Linked DNA regions of Homo sapiens: region 1 is linked to region 2. The links are contacts of gene promoters, found by promoter capture Hi-C in human tissues and cell types (Jung and others, 2019). All regions are on one chromosome and are shown on one strand. Each heading gives the region's core, a stretch centred on a gene start or on the middle of the fragment in contact. The rest is flanking DNA. Distances are from core to core; before and after follow the strand shown.

Region 1 (2,700 bases), core at 52-2,551, 440 kb before region 2:
CACTCAGTTTCTTCATCCATGAAGTGACAGAGTTTAAACGAGAACAGTGTTTTCCCAACAAAAGTAGTTATCTAAAGCCTTCATGCCCCCCTCAACCCTGGGGGATAGGAGGGTTTGGGAGAGGGAGGCCCGTCTGGTCAAGAACAGCTGCTGCAAAAAGGAACATGGCAGACAGAGGAGGAAGTAGAGCAAAAAGTGGCTCAGAGACTGGAAGCTGGAAAATGCTGGACCTTAGAGGACTCCTCAGGTCCCTTGTAACTCTGACATTTATTCAGAGTCATGAGACTTATCTCTCCCAGTTTTGTGTCACCTCTCCTGTATTAGGTACTTTTGAAGATGACACAAAGCAGTACTGTCATTTGTTCTGATATAGGCAAGCAAGCTACCTTTCTTCCATGAGACAAGGCTTCTCACTGCTGAGAGGTCTGAATCTCTGCCCTTGGAATGTGCCAAGCAGCTGGTCCTAAGCCAGCCACGCTCTGTCTCTTCATTCCAATATAGTCTTTCATTTATTCGACAATCAACAGGTAATTATTGAAAGCCAATAACTTTCCTTTTTTCTGGATAGCGTGGTCAGGAAGGTTCTCTTTGAGGAGGTGACAGTTAAGCTGAGGCACCAATTAAGTGAAGGAATAAGCTGTGCTTACAGTGGGAGAATAGCACTGGCTTGAGTCTGAGGACCCCCGTAAGTATGAGGCTCTTGATTTGGGGAGTCAGCTTGGCATGTCTTAAGGCAAAGCAAGGTGCCTGGGGCAGAAACAGAGTGAAGCAGAGAGGAGAGGTCAGAAGGTTGGAGTGAGATGACACAGATCACAGGGGCCTTGTAGGTCATGATAGGGACCAATGGGAAGCCATTGGATAAATTTTTACATAGAAATAATTATATCTGATCACTCCAGCAAATGCGCAGAGGATAGTGTTCTATAGATGATATCTGCAAAGTGGTTGGTTAGAGTGAAGGGCTTGGAAACTAAGCAGCCTACGTGGGAAGTCACATGGTGTCTGGGAAACTTGGATGTGGTTGGATAGGCCTGGATTTGAATCCTGATCTTGAGGCTGACCTATTGTGTAATTTGGGCAAGTTATTTAACTTCCCTCTTCTCCATTTCCTCATCTCTCTCTCACTCTTTTTTTTTTTTTTTTTCCTTGAGATAGAGTCTCACTCTGTCACCCAGGCTGGAGTGCAGTGGTGCAATCTTGGCTCACTACAACCTCCACCTCCAGAGTTCAAGCAATTCTCATGCCTCAACCTCTCGAGTAGTTGGGACTACAGGCATGCACCAACACTCCAGGCTAATTTTTTTGTTGTTGTATTTTTAGTAGAGACAGGGTTTCACTATGTTGGCCAGACTTGTCTCAAACTCCTGGCCTCAAGTGGTCCACCCACCTTGGCCTCCCAAAGTGCTGGGATTGCAGGTGTGAGCCACCACGCCCAGCCTGTTTCCTCACCTCTTAAAGAGGGACCACATTATCTACCTCAATGAGTTGTGAAGATGAAAGCAGAGAGATTACATATGTTATCTCAAAGCAGCTGCTTAAAATGATAGTGTTATTGTCCAAACTAATCCCATGACCTTTGCACTATGGGCCACAGATGAGCAAGACAACTGGAAACGTAAGATGCATGGTGGGTTTCATATATTATCCTCTTTATACCTTGCTCCCTTTGGGAACGTGGGAGGTGGAAAAGGAAGGAGTAAGGTGACTTGTGCCAAGTCTTGCAGCTGGTTAAGGTCAGGGCTGTGTCTAGGGGCCAGGTTCTTTGTTCCTGCCTCATGTTCTTTCTTTTACGCTTAGAGTTAGCAAACTACAGCCCCACAGGGCAATCCTAGCTTGCCCTCTGTTTTTATAAATAATGTTTTATTTGAACACAGCCATGCTCACTCATTTATAGACTATCTGTGGCTGCTTTCACACCAGGGCAGCAGAGTTGATTAGTTACAACAAAGACAGTGTAGCCCCAAAAAGCCAAAATATTTACTTGCCAGAACTTTACAGAAAAAGTTTGCCAGCCCCCCATCTACACCATTCTTCTCCCTTAATTGGCATGGCTTTATTGTATTTAGCTTAGATATTACCAAATAGGAAAGGCTGGCCTCTCTAGGTCTCCAAAACAGTGGGATTCAGAGGTTCTTTTGAGGAGAGCACTGTACTGGTAGAATATTGCAGTGAGAGATCTCAGGCCACTGGGAGCCAGCAGAAACACACTGGTCACCTGGCAGGGGACAGCAAAGGGAGAGGATGGGGACTCTGGGCATGGTACCTGGGTAGAGAAGAAGGGAATCCCAAATACTTGCTCTTAACTATTTCAGACCTCAGAGACAGCTATCTAAAACAGGTGAGGAGGAATGTAGAGGGCTCAGGAAATGAGCAATGCAGCAGCTTTATCTGACCACCACAACTTGAATGTGCACTGCTGAGTGGGTCTCTCTGGGACACACCTATCAGGGATTAGCTGGACCTCAGGGCTGCTCATCACTTTATACCCTCGGATGACCATCATTAGCACACTGGGAAACAATGCTTGCTTATTCCCAGAGACCACAGTTCAGATGCAAATGGATCTTCCTGGTGACTCCTCCTTCCTCTCTCGAGACTTTAGGAGTATGTGTGGACTATGGCGTCTTACCAGGGACTATTTCCCTGCCTGGCACTCAAGAAGCTCACAGCTTGGCTTCAGGTGTTTGGATTTCCAAGTTC
Region 2 (2,700 bases), core at 62-2,561:
GAGACCGATTTACCTGAGGCAGAAGGTGCTGCACGCATTCTTGTGAAATTTGAGGGGACCGAGAAGGAATCTCAGGAAGTTTGTTTACACTGGGGGCCTGGAGACCTTCGGGAAAATAGCCAGAACCAAAACGGACCAGTCAGCAGACGCAGACACACACAAAGTGACAGGGACACAGAAGCAGAAGCTGAACTGGGCAGAGCGGGCAGCGGCCGACCCACCTCGCACGGCCGCCCCCGCCAGCGCCAGGTGCAGGGCTCATAGCGGGCCAGCAGAGGGCGCGCCGCCCCCAGGGAGCCGAGCGGCGGCCGCGCGGAGCCGGGCGGGCTAGGGGAGCCGCAGGCGAGCCAGTCGCGCCCCTGAGGCTAGGCCACTCAGGGTGCAGGACCCGGCCAAGGAGGAGGAGGATGGTGAGGAGCGGAACCCCCTCGTGGGCCCGAGGGGCAGACAGACAGGAGTGCTTCCTAAGAATTACATCACGCTGCGCAACGCTGCGGCTCTCGGACTCCCTGGTGCAAAGGGGGGTGGGGTAGGGGCTGTGTGTGTGTGTGTGTGTGTGTGTGTATATATGTGTGTTGGGGGGAGGGGACTTAGAGCAAGAGCCCGGGAGAGAAGAAGACGCGCTCGGGGAAAACGCTCCATGCACATGGAGAAATTTCTTGCTCCGAACTGCATGCACCGAGAAACGAGCCCCCAGCACTTCCCCGCTGCTCCCCTCCCAGTGCAAAGCACCCAGCTAGTGAGAAACCCTCCAGCCCCACCTCAAGCACCGCCCCCCCTCCCCAAACACCGGCTCTGCACCCTCCAGCCCGGCTCCAGCGCCGCCGCGAGCTTTCCCCAGGACTGGCCCTGGCGGGGCGCCTAGAGCCCCAGTTGCATTGCTCCAGGAGAAAGGAGGGGGGCGGTGCATTTTGCAGGAGGAGGAGAAGGGGGGTGGGTGGTGGGGGAGAGAGAAAATTGCGCGGAGACCTGCCAAGCGCCACCGCCGCCGCCACCGCCGCTGCCGCCGCCGCCGCCGCCGCCTGTGAGCTCCGGCGGGCAGCCGGACTGTCGGCTTCCCGGGGCATCTGGGTCCGGCGGGGCACAGCCCTGGGCGCTGCCGAAGCCGCCGCCGCCGCCTCCGCGGCGAGTACAGGCGGCTTCCCCCGGAGCCTGTGCAGCTCCAGCTCCTCGGGGGTGGAGAAGTGGGGGGTGGGGTTGTTGTTTGGGGGGAAGAAGGGGGAGGGGGCAACGCCGAGAGAGTCAGTGGTTTCCATGGTGATGGAGCTGAAAGTGCAGGAAATTTAAAGGCTTGGACCCTGCGAGACAGACAAACCGGTGCCAACGTGCGCGGACGCCGCCGCCGCCGCCGCCGCTGGAGTCCGCCGGGCAGAGCCGGCCGCGGAGCCCGGAGCAGGCGGAGGGAAGTGCCCCTAGAACCAGCTCAGCCAGCGGCGCTTGCACAGAGCGGCCGGACGAAGAGCAGCGAGAGGAGGAGGGGAGAGCGGCTCGTCCACGCGCCCTGCGCCGCCGCCGGCCCGGGAAGGCAGCGAGGAGCCGGCGCCTCCCGCGCCCCGCGGTCGCCCTGGAGTAATTTCGGATGCCCAGCCGCGGCCGCCTTCCCCAGTAGACCCGGGAGAGGAGTTGCGGCCAACTTGTGTGCCTTTCTTCCGCCCCGGTGGGAGCCGGCGCTGCGCGAAGGGCTCTCCCGGCGGCTCATGCTGCCGGCCCTGCGCCTGCCCAGCCTCGGGTGAGCCGCCTCCGGAGAGACGGGGGAGCGCGGCGGCGCCGCGGGCTCGGCGTGCTCTCCTCCGGGGACGCGGGACGAAGCAGCAGCCCCGGGCGCGCGCCAGAGGCATGGAGCGCTGCCCCAGCCTAGGGGTCACCCTCTACGCCCTGGTGGTGGTCCTGGGGCTGCGGGCGACACCGGCCGGCGGCCAGCACTATCTCCACATCCGCCCGGCACCCAGCGACAACCTGCCCCTGGTGGACCTCATCGAACACCCAGACCCTATCTTTGACCCCAAGGAAAAGGATCTGAACGAGACGCTGCTGCGCTCGCTGCTCGGGGGCCACTACGACCCAGGCTTCATGGCCACCTCGCCCCCCGAGGACCGGCCCGGCGGGGGCGGGGGTGCAGCTGGGGGCGCGGAGGACCTGGCGGAGCTGGACCAGCTGCTGCGGCAGCGGCCGTCGGGGGCCATGCCGAGCGAGATCAAAGGGCTAGAGTTCTCCGAGGGCTTGGCCCAGGGCAAGAAGCAGCGCCTAAGCAAGAAGCTGCGGAGGAAGTTACAGATGTGGCTGTGGTCGCAGACATTCTGCCCCGTGCTGTACGCGTGGAACGACCTGGGCAGCCGCTTTTGGCCGCGCTACGTGAAGGTGGGCAGCTGCTTCAGTAAGCGCTCGTGCTCCGTGCCCGAGGGCATGGTGTGCAAGCCGTCCAAGTCCGTGCACCTCACGGTGCTGCGGTGGCGCTGTCAGCGGCGCGGGGGCCAGCGCTGCGGCTGGATTCCCATCCAGTACCCCATCATTTCCGAGTGCAAGTGCTCGTGCTAGAACTCGGGGGCCCCCTGCCCGCACCCGGACACTTGATCGATCCCCACCGACGCCCCCTGCACCGCCTCCAACCAGTTCCACCACCCTCTAGCGAGGGTTTTCAATGAACTTTTTTTTTTTTTTTTTTTTTTTTTTCTGGGCTACAGAGACCTAGCTTTCTGGTTC

What was found. Contacts are between HindIII fragments. The study calls those that stand out against the background at their distance.
Region 1: a fragment that was not itself captured here is called in contact with the fragment with the promoter of NOG in region 2 in 1 of the 25 tissues and cell types used here (spleen).

Annotation. Positions count from the first base shown.
Region 1 is chr17:56,154,950-56,157,649 of GRCh38, forward strand. All of the region lies in intron 1 of ANKFN1 (ankyrin repeat and fibronectin type III domain containing 1), which reads left to right. Among named protein-coding and RNA genes, the nearest start is that of ANKFN1, 2.8 kb to the left of the region's middle. RefSeq lists a silencer at 2,079-2,285. The HindIII fragment of the contact is 5,131 bases long and covers 1-2,700 here.
Region 2 is chr17:56,592,388-56,595,087 of GRCh38, forward strand. NOG (noggin) reads left to right here and starts at 1,312. Exons shown (of 1, transcript NM_005450.6): 1 at 1,312-2,700. The coding sequence starts at 1,837. The coding sequence ends at 2,535. RefSeq lists a silencer at 165-374. The HindIII fragment of the contact is 21,510 bases long and covers 1-2,700 here.